Regions from separate parts of the Homo sapiens genome. Here regions 1 and 3 are each linked to region 2. Evidence: promoter capture Hi-C in 16 types of primary human blood cells and fetal thymus (Javierre and others, 2016). All regions are on one chromosome and are shown on one strand. Each heading gives the region's core, a stretch centred on a gene start or on the middle of the fragment in contact. The rest is flanking DNA. Distances are from core to core; before and after follow the strand shown. Region 1 has its middle 3.6 kb from the start of POLR1D. Region 2 holds the start of RASL11A (RAS like family 11 member A). Region 3 has its middle 120 kb from the start of USP12-AS1.

The links. The method cuts DNA at HindIII sites, captures the fragments that hold promoters and counts their contacts. A CHiCAGO score of 5 or more calls a contact.
Region 1: a fragment that was not itself captured here is called in contact with the fragment with the promoter of RASL11A in region 2 in 1 of 17 cell types (neutrophils); the score reaches 5.7 in neutrophils.
Region 3: a contact is called between a fragment that was not itself captured here and the fragment with the promoter of RASL11A in region 2, in 8 of 17 cell types (megakaryocytes, erythroblasts, total B cells and 5 more). The highest score is 11.4, in megakaryocytes.

What each region holds. Positions count from the first base shown.
Region 1 is chr13:27,623,522-27,627,380 of GRCh38, forward strand. It overlaps a transcript of POLR1D not described here. Among named protein-coding and RNA genes, the nearest start is that of POLR1D, 3.6 kb to the left of the region's middle. The HindIII fragment of the contact is 1,313 bases long and covers 661-1,973 here.
Region 2 is chr13:27,268,258-27,272,171 of GRCh38, forward strand. It overlaps RASL11A (RAS like family 11 member A), which reads left to right and starts at 2,573. Exons shown (of 4, transcript NM_206827.2): 1 at 2,573-2,811; 2 at 3,227-3,283; 3 at 3,382-3,461. The coding sequence starts at 2,688. RefSeq lists an enhancer at 2,035-2,535 and silencers at 2,484-2,703, 2,744-2,973. The HindIII fragment of the contact is 11,897 bases long and covers 1-3,914 here.
Region 3 is chr13:26,999,234-27,003,160 of GRCh38, forward strand. No RefSeq gene overlaps it. Among named protein-coding and RNA genes, the nearest start is that of USP12-AS1, 120 kb to the right of the region's middle. The HindIII fragment of the contact is 2,857 bases long and covers 279-3,135 here.

The DNA.
Region 1 (3,859 bases), core at 67-2,566, 350 kb after region 2:
ATTGAAAATGAGGAAACTGAGAATATCAGAGGCCTAGACAAGAACTGTGATCATGGGAATTAAAAGAAGTATATATCCATGTCTGTAGTTGGAGTGGTGGGGGTAAGGGAAGAGACAAAAACCATGACCCCAGTTAGATTGTTGTTTAAAAACAGAAGGAAAGAAGATTGGGGTGGGGACTTGGCTTCTTGCTAAACTTTTTGGCTTTTAAAGAATTGCATCATTTGCTGTGATTGGTAGACTTGGCAAGGGTGGGAATAATTTGGAAGAAGTGTGAGAATTCTGGTTTTACATGAGAGTTTTAGGGAGTAAGGCTCCATCTTTGAGGCATTTACAGGAAAGATACCAGTTTACTGCTTGAATTTTGGGATATACTTAGTCATGATCTAAGTAAGGTAAGATGTTTTGATTATATTACAGAAGGAGAAAATTGGGATGACTAGAAAACATTTTCAGTCCTTAAGTAGGTATAGCCTAGGGTAATGTAGAAGAAGCCCTATTTGAGAGAAGGTAAAGCCAAGGAGAAGGAAAATTCCATATAGGGGAAATGACTGTTTTGGAAAACACATATCCCACCCGCCAGTGCTCTGTGCTTTGGGCCCTTGTTTATCTATCCCCTCTTCCTGGGCCAGTCTTACTCCTGCCGTACTCTTAAGTCAAAGCTTATGTGTCAGGCCTCTCAGCCTAGTTTGGGTACTTCTTTGTGCTTTCATTACACCCTGTGTTTCCTGGCCTTGGCATTTACTATGCTATTGGTAGTGCTTATCTTGTTTACCCACTAAACCAACTTGGAGGTCAACATGATTCTGGTACCTGGAACACCTGACAGGTAGTGGACACTTAGTAAATACTCTATGAATTCATGTAAGTAGTTATGGCATGCAGCTTTTCAGTCACTCAAACCTGACCTCTTACACTAGCGTGCCATAGAGCCTACATTTCCTACACTCAGCCAAATTCTTTAAAGAGATATCCATATTTTTGAGCACTAGTATGTTCCAGGCCTTGGGGATAGATATATAGCTATAGTGGATGAGACAGAGTAAGTCCTGTTCTCATAAAGCATGTGTTATAAGAGCCCCTTAAAAAAAAATTGTGAGGCTCGGCATGGTGGCTCACACCTGGGAAGCCAAGGTGGGAGGATCACTTGAGCCCAGGAGTTTGAGACAAGCCTGGGCAACATGGGGAGTCCCTGTCTCTACAAAAAAATAAAAAAGGTAGCCAGGCATGGTGACACATGCCTGTAGTCCCAGCTGCTTGGGAAGCTGAGGCGAGAGGATATCTTGAACCTAGGAGGTTGAGGCTGCAATGAGCCATGATCACACCATTGCACTCCAGCCTGGGTGACAGAGGGAGACCTTGTCTCAAAAAAATATATAAAATTAAAAACTTGTAATTCTGTAAAAGCAGCAAATGTAGGGTCAAGATAGAAAACATAAGAAAGGAATCTACTTTAGGCACGGAAGTTAGGAAAGGTGTTCTAGAGATTACAGGAAGGGAGAGAGCTGGCTGTGCAAAGAGGAGAGAAAATGCATTCTGGGGGTATAGCATGTGCAAAGGTCCTAAAGCAGAAAACTGGTGGCATGAGGAACTGAAGATATTGAACAAAGATTTGCATGTTTTTGTAGCACAGTAGACAAGGAGAAGGGCCTGTCCTCTGGAGTCCATGGGAGGAAGAGTTGGGGTAGTAGGGATTTTGGATTTTAGGTTCAGTGGGAATGACGTCTTCTTTACTTTGATTACAGAGTGGGGGGAGATGAATTATAGGGAGGCTGGAGTAGAAGCAGAGAGAGACACTATAAAGAGTTGAAGTGGCCTGGAAGGGTAGAAGCTAGTGATGGAGAAGAGAAGGTAGGTTTGAGGTATATTTTAGAATTGAATTGGCACAGAATTGGTACACTTCAGGAACTGTGGAAGATGAAGAATCAAAGATGACTACTGCCTAGCTTTGGGGCCAATTACTGAAATTGGGAAGCTTAAAATGGAAAATAGATTGGGAGGTGGAAAAGATGATAGGAGTCAAAAGTTTCATTTGTGAACATTGTAAGCAGTGGCTATGTGAGTTGGAGATCGTGGAAGAGATCTAAGCTGGAGACAAATTTTATGAGTCCTTGCCATAAAGATGACATAAATTGATTAAAAAAAAAAAAATAGAGGGTGACAAAGAAGTGGGCCCAGAACAAAGCCCTAGGCAACTTCAGTATTTAAAGTTTGGGTCAAAGAAGAGTTAAAGATAAGAGTATTTGTAAGTTTGGGTCAATGTAATGGTAGGAAAGTGCAAAAATAGGGTGTGGAAGCCAAGGGTTTCAAATAGGGAATAGAAAAATGTCACCTGGAGTTAACGTGGAGGTCACTAGGCAGTAACAGCATTAGTTTACTGCCTAAGAAGAGTAAACATTACCACTCATTATACAGAGGAATGGCTTAGTTTGGTTTTCCAATAAAAGAATCACATGAAGACATTGGAAGAGGTGAGTTTAGGCGGGAGCAGGGATGTCATAGGGCAAGGATACAGCATATTCTCTTATGGTGACAGTAAGAAATTCTGGAAAGTCAATGTTTGTTTAAGGGCATTAGCCTTTGAAGATAAAAGGAAGCTCAAAAAGGATGTGGAAAAGGATTAAAAACTTTTTTCCTCTCCCAAAACTTTGCCTGTGGGGATAGTAAACAGAATTACTTACCTGGAGTTTAATTCCTCTAAACCAAGGCCTGTCAGGAGATGAAAACAAAGTTTAATTAGTGGACATCAAGGTACAGACTGATGATAGTAGATGAAGTACAGTGGGAAACACAGCCAGAGGCGACCGCTCACCACATCACAACTTCATTGCACCTAAAAGAATTTAGACTGATCACGTAGAATGCAGTCTTGAATGTCTTTAGGGTGACCATAAACTCACGGGTTCATACAAAACACCTGCAGAAGGCAGTTGGGTGGAGGGAAGAAACTGAGAAGGGGGCAGGCAGGTTAACCAAGAGTCTTGTATATGTGAAAGGAATCTGCATAAAGTCTGTAGGGACCTGAGGGAAAGCTGAGTTGGTCCAAAAAGGACTAGGGAGATGAATGTGAATCTTATACATCCTGTGAAAAGTTAATCCGCATCTGATTTGCACTCCAATAGCATTTCATTCTAAATAAACTCATGCCAGTGATTCAAGATCAGAAATTCTCTTCAGCTGTAAAGTACTGTGACTTTTAAAAAGCTGATTATTAAATATATACCAAAGGCTTTTAACATGTAGTAATTCTGAGTACTTGCTGGTACTTTCTATTTTCAAAGTACTTTACAAGCTAATTATTTACAAATTGCATATAGCTGTAACATCTAAGTACTCTAATTAGTTGGCATAATGCACAGGTTCACACAGAATCTCGAGAGATGGAAAGGTGTCTACAAAGTGGTCTCTTCAGTACTGACCCAAAGAGTGTCTTGCATCTCAAGAGATAGGAAAGCATATCAAGTTCCGTGGCCTACCACTCCCCACTCTTCTTTTAGTTTCCCTTAAACACGTTATTCAGATTTTAGATGGTCTCCAGATCACTAGACAAAAGTCTTCTTTTTGGTTAGCGTAATTTAGAGTCATTCTTTGTAACAACCTTTAAACTGGTCTCTTAGGAAGTTTACCCAAATCTACCCATCTGCTTTCAAGTACTTATTAAGACCCCCAAACCCAGCCTTTTCTTGCTCAAATTCTTAATGTTGCTATTTTCTTTTCCTGCTTTATAAACTATCCTGGTACAGTTACTGCGTGGGTCTGGTTTTTTTTTTTTTCTCATGATGAAATTCTTCTCAAACTTGGATTATTAGATCTCTAATTATTTAACTATACAGTAAGTATGTACCTAATAGTAGCACAG
Region 2 (3,914 bases), core at 1,323-3,822:
AGTCAGCCAGTGAACAAACATTTATTAAGGACCTTGCCAGTCCCAGGTGCCACTATGTGCTGGGTACTAGAGTCACAAGCTAGAGTCCCTGTCCTCCTGGAGACAGACATGAAACAAATATTCCACCAGAAAGTAATGATAGTTGAGATCAGTGCCCTGAGAGTGAGTAACTGCAAGATAGGGGTGGGGACAGTGGCAGTGATCAGAGACGGCTTCTCCAAGGGAGGAACATGTAAACTGAAGTCACCATCTAGTCTAGATTAGTTTACTTCAGGATTATTCAGAATTCTGCAGATAAGAAATGAGGCCGGGCGCGGTGGCTCACGCCTGTAATCCCAGCACTTTGGGAGGCCGAGGCGGGCGGATCACGAGGTCAGGAGATCGAGACCATCCCGGCTAAAACGGTGAAACCCCGTCTCTACTAAAAATACAAAAAATTAGCCGGGCGTAGTGGCGGGCGCCTGTAGTCCCAGCTACTTGGGAGGCTGAGGCAGGAGAATGGCGTGAACCCGGGAGGCGGAGCTTGCAGTGAGCCGAGATTGCGCCACTGCACTCCAGCCTGGGCGACAGAGCGAGACTCCGTCTCAAAAAAAAAAAAAAAAAAAGAAATGAGAGCAGTAGGGATACAGAGGGAGACACCAAGAAATATAGGAGGAGAAATGATGGAACTTGGCGATTAATCAATGTGGAAGTGAGAGAGTGGGTAGAGTCAAGGATGTCTCCCAGGCTTGGGCCACTGGGTGGATGGAGACACATTCATTAGCATGGTCAATTACAAAAATGGACCCCATTCTCCATCACTCTCTGCTTCCTTGCCCTTTCACACGTGACTTTTCTGCTGTTTCCACAAAGGGGCGGAGTGTATTTCCCTACTCCTTGAATATGGGCTGGCCCCATGACTTGCTTTGGCCAACAGAATGCAGCAGAAGGGATGGGTTCCTTCTCAAGGCCTAGGTCTCAAGAGGCCTTATCCATTTCCACCCACTCTCTTGGAACTCTGCTCAGCTACCATGAAGGCAGGCCCTGGCCAACGTGCTGAATGAGAAGAGACATGTAACTCAGTCACTACCCTCCCTCATCACAGCCAACAGCTGCCAGACATGAGTAAGGCTATCCAAGGGCAGCCAGCCCCCACTTCCAGAACCTGGAAGCTCCCTGCAGATGCATCAAAGGGCTCAACAACTGTAAGTGATTGTTGTTCTAAGCCATCTAGTTTGGTGTGGCTTGTCATGCAGCAAAAACTGGTACAACCAGGGTAGAGAAAGGTATGAATTAGGGTGGGGCTGTCTAATAGGCGATTAGGCAAGTGAGGCTGGAACACAGGAGGTCAGAGGCATGAAGGTCTTCTAACTGTTCAAGGTTAAAGTCCTGAGGCTTCTGCTGTGCTATTTCTGGTGGGCTCCAGAAATCCAAGAACCAGTCTATAGCTCTGTGTCCTGTTCCTCACACTGCCCCCCACCCCACCCTAGACCCCACCATGCACCTAGAAGTAAATATTTGGATACTGAAGCAAATGCATGACTCAAGCACATAGGATAGTATTAATGATGGACACTTAGTGCAGGGCCAGGGCCCCCAGCCAGTGGAGTGCTCATGAGTGTTCAGGAATGAGCCAGTGCAACCCCTGCCTGCAGAGGAGGGGCTGGGCATGGATACTGAGATGCTAACCATCACTGCCCCTAAGGGGACTTCATCTATCCCTAGCAAGGTCACAGTGACTGCAGTTGCCTCCACTGATACTAATTCAGAGCTCTTGCCCCCCGCCCCCCGCCCTTTTCCCATATTAATGTTACCCCTTAGCATCTTTTCTTTTCTTTCTTTTTTTTTTTTTTTTGAGACGGAGTTTCGCTCTTGTGGTCCAGGCTGGAGTGCAGTGGTGCCATCTCGGCTCACTGCAACCTCCGCCTCCCTAGTTCAAGCGATTCTGCTGCCTCAGCCTCCCGAGTAGTTGGGATTACAGGCGCCCACCACCACGCCCCGCTAATTTTTGTATTTTTAGTAGAGACAGCGTTTCGCCATGTTGGCCAGGCTGGTCTTGAACTCCTGACCGCAGATGATCTTGCCCACCTGGGCCTCCCAAAGTGCTGGGATTACAGGCGTAAGCCACCGCGCCCAGCCCCTTAGCACCTTTTAAAAATAAAAAGGGCAGCGTTTTACAGCAATCTGTCCCATTGTTGCAGAAACATCCAACTGATTGCACTTTTTCTTCTTCTCTCGTCAACTCGTAACTCCTATCTCAAGTTCACCCACAGGTCTAGTGACTCCGGCTGGCTGCTGCGGGGCGAGGAGACTCGCAGAATGCCTGACTAGAGGCCACTCGCGCGCTCTGGACGGTGGCCGTATCTCCAGGGTCTGAGCCCCGGAGCCGCAGTCCTGCCGCAGAGCGCCTGGAGCCGCGAGCAGCTAGCAGCCCGGCGAAGCGCACAGCCTCGGCGATAGTCAGCTCCGCGGCCTCTGCTCCCGCCCCTCCCGGCCGCTCCGGGAAGGGGCGGAGACGAGGAGGAGCTGGGACGGCCGCCGCGCTCCCGGGCGCACCAAGCCCTTTAAAAGCCGCGGGCCTTGACAGTTCTGCAGGCAGCCGCCGCGGTCCCGGACCTCTAGTCCCGCACTCCCAGCTGGCGAGCCGGCTCCGGGTGCGGCGAGGCCCAGCCCTCTCGGATTGCGCGCCGGACCCCGGGACGCGCTCCATGCGGCCGCTCAGCATGTCCGGGCACTTTCTGCTCGCACCCATCCCCGAGTCCTCCTCGGACTACCTACTGCCCAAGGACATCAAACTGGCGGTGCTGGGCGCCGGCCGCGTGGGCAAGAGCGGTGAGTGCGGCGGGGACCCCCGGGCGGCTTCGCTCCCCGGCTCCGGCCGCGACCACTGGGGGCGCTGCGGAGAGAGGGCGCCTCGGCCGAAGCAGAGGGCGCGGGTGCAGGTAGAATCGGGCTGCTTTCGCGCTGGGTGGGTCCCGGTCCGTCCCGGCCTGCTTCCCTGGCGTTTCCTGGTGCATCTACTCCTGGGATCTCGGCGGGATTGGCGCCTGTTCGGGGATGGGGTGCGGGAGAGGTGTCCCGCCAGTCGTACTCGCGGCCAAGCCCGCGGCACCACGGCTTTGCGGAGCCTCTGGAAGCGAGCAGTGCCCACGGTTCTGCACCCTTCACTCCCCCCAGTTTGTCCGAGGTGCCTGGGTTTGACAGGCTTGTTCTACTCCTTCGGTTGATTTTCCTATTTCCTTTTCAGCAATGATCGTGCGCTTCCTGACCAAGAGATTCATTGGAGACTATGAACCGAATACAGGTGAGAATACTTTCACGCTCCCTGCTTTTATGCTTGCGTGTTTCTTTTTACGGATGGGAGTTTGAGAATTAAAAAGCAAACTCTACTTCATTCTCCAGGCAAGCTGTATTCACGGCTGGTCTATGTCGAGGGGGACCAGCTCTCCCTGCAGATCCAGGATACTCCCGGGGGCGTCCAGGTAAGAACCGCCAGGGGCAAACAGCTCACCCCCACCCGTGAGACCACCCCAGTGGGCACAGCACGTAGGGCGCCCATGCTGGGCGCAGGGGTCTGAGCAAGGCATCTAAACCGACCTGTGCGTTTAGAGGGAGGAATGGGCTGTCCACAGGTGGGGCCAGTGGTTGGGGTGTTAGAAACTCTCTAAGGGGGAGGCATGGTTAGAAGCAGCCTCCTCTTGTTAAGCACCTGACTTAACTTCACTTTGCAACCCTGGTGGGCCATCACTACTTAAGCAGGTCTCACCATTTCTTCCGGAGGTAGCCATGGAACCATTAACAAAGAAAAAAACGTTTAAAACAAAACAAAACAAAACAAAAAAAGAGGTAGGATTCTGATGGGAGAGACTCTTCTCCCCTGGCAAGCTCTGCTTTTTTTGAGACGGAGTTTCACTCTTGCCCAGGCTGGAGTGCAG
Region 3 (3,927 bases), core at 457-2,956, 270 kb before region 2:
AATGTCTATTGATCATTCAGAAATTTTGAGGACACACAAGGACTATGGGTTTACAACAAAATATGGAGACTACAACTTATAAATTGCTAGTAAAACACAGTCTCTCTCTCTCTCTCTCACACACACACACACATATGCGCAAACACACAGAACCCACAACCCATGCCAACACCACTGCCCCTTAAAAGATGTTTAATCCATGTTCTTAACCACGTTATACAGTTTCACAAACTTGGTCACAGCTCTGAATAATGGAAATAACTCCAATAACCTTTGGAAGCTTTAGATAATTCTGCAAAACATGGCGGGACTTTAACTCTAGTAAGCGCAGGACAGCTCTGGCTCTGTTCTTTTACTACTTACATGGCAGCTTCCACCCAACCAGGATGCCACACATGGCCCATCCAATCACCCCAGCACACGTGGCGGTGAACTTGGTCTTCCTGACAAAGAGAGGCAGCCAGCTCACAGAGCAGCAGAGTGTGACCCAGTCGGGGACCCAGGGCATGCTCATTCTGCCCTTGGGAAGATGGCCAGGCCCCTTCCTGTATCTCAGCTGCTTCTCTCAGACCCTAGGTTGATGATTCCGCATCTGAGTTGCTGCTTGGGTAAAAAGAGTAGGATTGTGGGGGCATACGGACCACACCATCAGATATGGGCAACAAATATCTTAAAATGAAAAAGCAGTTTGTGACCTCATGGAGTGTGGATTCATTTCTGCATAATGCTTGTGTGTGTGTGTATTATACTCTAGTATATCTGTATATTTAGAATAAATATACAGATCTGTATATTTAGAATAAATTCTGGAGGAATATTACCAAAATGTAATTAATGGTTATGGCTTTGAGGCACAATTTTAGGATGCTTTAAGTTTTTGTTTTACTTTGATATTTAATTTTTTAATGAGCATGCATTAGTTCTGAAGAAAAAATGTTTTTAAAAAATTTTAAAGAGCAAGTATGCAAAATAAGAAGTTCAAACACATCATTTTTACATATGATCAGACGTGGTTTTATTAATGGCAAAGCGAGTTACTAAAAATAAGATTTGCCCAAAGAAGCAGAAATGAGGCCCTGTGTGTTTCCTGCCATCCCATCTTTTACTCCAAAATGAATAAAGGATAGTTCATAGGATCCCAATGTTTAAGGATGCTAATTTTTCTTTAGCTTTGACCTGAAGTTATTTATTTAATGAATGAGAAGAACTAATACATTTAATGTGGAAAATCTGATCACAATTTATACATGATTTTTTGTTTTTGTGAGTTCAACACTGGACTCTCATTTTTCTGTTCTTTTTTCATGTAATATTCCATAAACGGTTGTATTCTACCATGTCATTCAATGTCAGATCATAAGCATTTTCCCACATTGTCACAAAGTCTTCAGAGACATTTTAACAGCTGTGTAATAAACAACTGTGTCTTGGGTGATTTGGCCACTTGCTTATCATTGGCCTTTTAGGTCTTTCATCAGCTATTAGAAATAATCATTTATTCCTCAACTCATTCATCCACAAATCCAACGAATACCTCTTCAGCACTTGCTCTGCCCGAGGCCCTGTGCTAAGCACTGGGGGATCATCCAACACAGTCTCCCTAGCTGAGGACAAATGTTAACCAACCAGCAGCTGCACCGTCGCACACCGAATTGACTGCTTTGACGAAGAAGCAGAGTTTGAGGAGAAGTTAGACCTTGAGAACCTGGCTGTTAGAGGATAAACTGTGTGCATCCTCCCAAACTCATAGGGTGAAGTCCTAACCCCCAGCACCTGACAGTGGAATTGGACTTGTAAGTAGGGTCATGGCAGATTGACTCAGTTAAATGAGGTCATCAGGGCAGGCCCTAATCCAATAAGACTGGTGTCCTTATAAAAGGGGGAAATTTGGACACACACAGAAAGAAAGCCGTGTGGACGTGAAGTTGGCCTTCTAAAAGCCCAGGAGAGTAGCTGGGAATAGATCCTTCCCTCAGAGCCTCAGAAGGAACCACCACTGCTGACACCTTGACCTTGGACTTTCAGCCTCTGGAACTGGGAGAAAACTCGTACCTGTTGTTGGTGCCACCCGGTCTGTGGGGCTTGGTTTTGGCAATCGTAGAATGAGGCTTCTCTGGGGAAGTGACATTAGGCTGTGATCTGGATGATGAGGGGGAGTCACTAGAAGAGAAAAGGGAGTGATGTGTGCCCAAAGGAGGCAAGGGTCTAAGTCATCGAGGGACAGTAGGCACATGAAGGATGTTGGGTATCATTCTATGGTCAATGAGCTGGAAAGTGACTTGATCAGCGTGGCCTTTTGTATTCAGAGTTCAACAAAACATGAAAGAAGTCACTCTTGCTTTTTTGAGAAGAAAAGCACCTAATACAGAGAATTATCTGCTCACAAGTCATTAGATGGGCTGGAGGAGCAGGTCATGGCCTGGGTCTTGAGGAGGAATTCGCAGAGTGTCACTGCAGAGCTCACTCACCAGGGGAGCCGTTACCTCTACTTCAGTGAGGAAGCTGGGGAATCAGAAGATGAGCTGCACCTGCTGGCCTCAGAACACAACGTACAGGCAGCAGTCCAGTGTCCACAGGCCACAGCTGCAACTACAACTGCAGAGCTACACTGCACCTGCTAAACACATACCTGCTGGAGCTACGTCTGCCAGACCCACACCTGCTGAAGCCACACCTCCTAGACCCACGTCTACTGGAGCCAAACTCGTTAGACCAACACCTGCTGGAGCCACGACCCCTAGACCCACACCTGCTGGACCCAGCTGCAGAAGTGAACACCTGCCCCCTGCCACCACTCTCCCTGCCTCACTCTGCACTAGCTCAGGTCACCTACATTTGACTTAAGCAGAGCCTAAGTTGGAATCTACATTTCATGGAGTCTAGGAAATACAGTCCTCACCTTTCCAGCTTCTGCAGGAGAGAAAGGCACACTGGGAGGAGGTTGGAAAAGATGTTGAATACACCAAAGTACTGCATCCTCTTCAAAAGATCACTTTGGTTTTTCTATGGAAACTGTGTCAGAGGAAGCAAAGGTGGAGGAGGGAGTCTGGGTAGAAGACAGCTGCAATAGTCCAAGTGAGAGATGGTGGTTGGTCAGGCTGAAAGGGCAGAAGGGAGATGGAGTTGAGAGATTAAAGCTTACATCCTGAAAGTAACATTCAAAGTCCTTGCTCGGGTCTCCCAGGCCCTAGGAGACTCCTCTCCTACCTCCTCTGGCCTCATCTCACTCTTCCCTGTGAGCTCCAGCCACATTCACCCTCTCCTGTTATTTGAAACACACAGGCTTATTCCTATTTTAGAGCTTTTGCCCAAGCTGTTTCCCCAACCTTGGCTGCACTGCCTGGAAACTTTTGCATGACTGATTCCTTCTTATCAAATCCCAGATTAAATGTTACATCCTCAAAGAGACCTCCCCTGACCACAAAATTTAAAGTAACCTCCAGCAAGTCTATACATCACACTGCCTGGTTTTTTAAGAGCACTGTATACTAAGTGATATTATCTTATTTGCCCTCCAAGCAGAGACCCCATATGTCTGTTCATCTCTTTGTCTTCTGAGCCTAGATGAGTGCCTGGCACACAGTAGACACTCAGCAAACATTCACAGATGGCTACAGGGTGTGGGAGGTGAGAGACGAGGTGCTGAAGATGACACTCAAGTTGCTGGGCTAGACAACTGTGTGGATGATGAGGCCACAGAAATTCCATGGAAAAATGGGGACAAATAGTGTTTGGAGAGGACAGGAATAAGGGATTTAAGTTTTTGACAAGTTAAGTTTGAAATACCTGTGCGGTAGTTGGAATAACGGCCCCCAAAGATGTCCCCCTCCTACTCTCCGGAACCTGTGAATATGTCACCTTACATGGCAAAGGGGATTCTGCAGATGTGATTGAGTTTAGGTCCTTGACATGGGGCATTATCCAGGT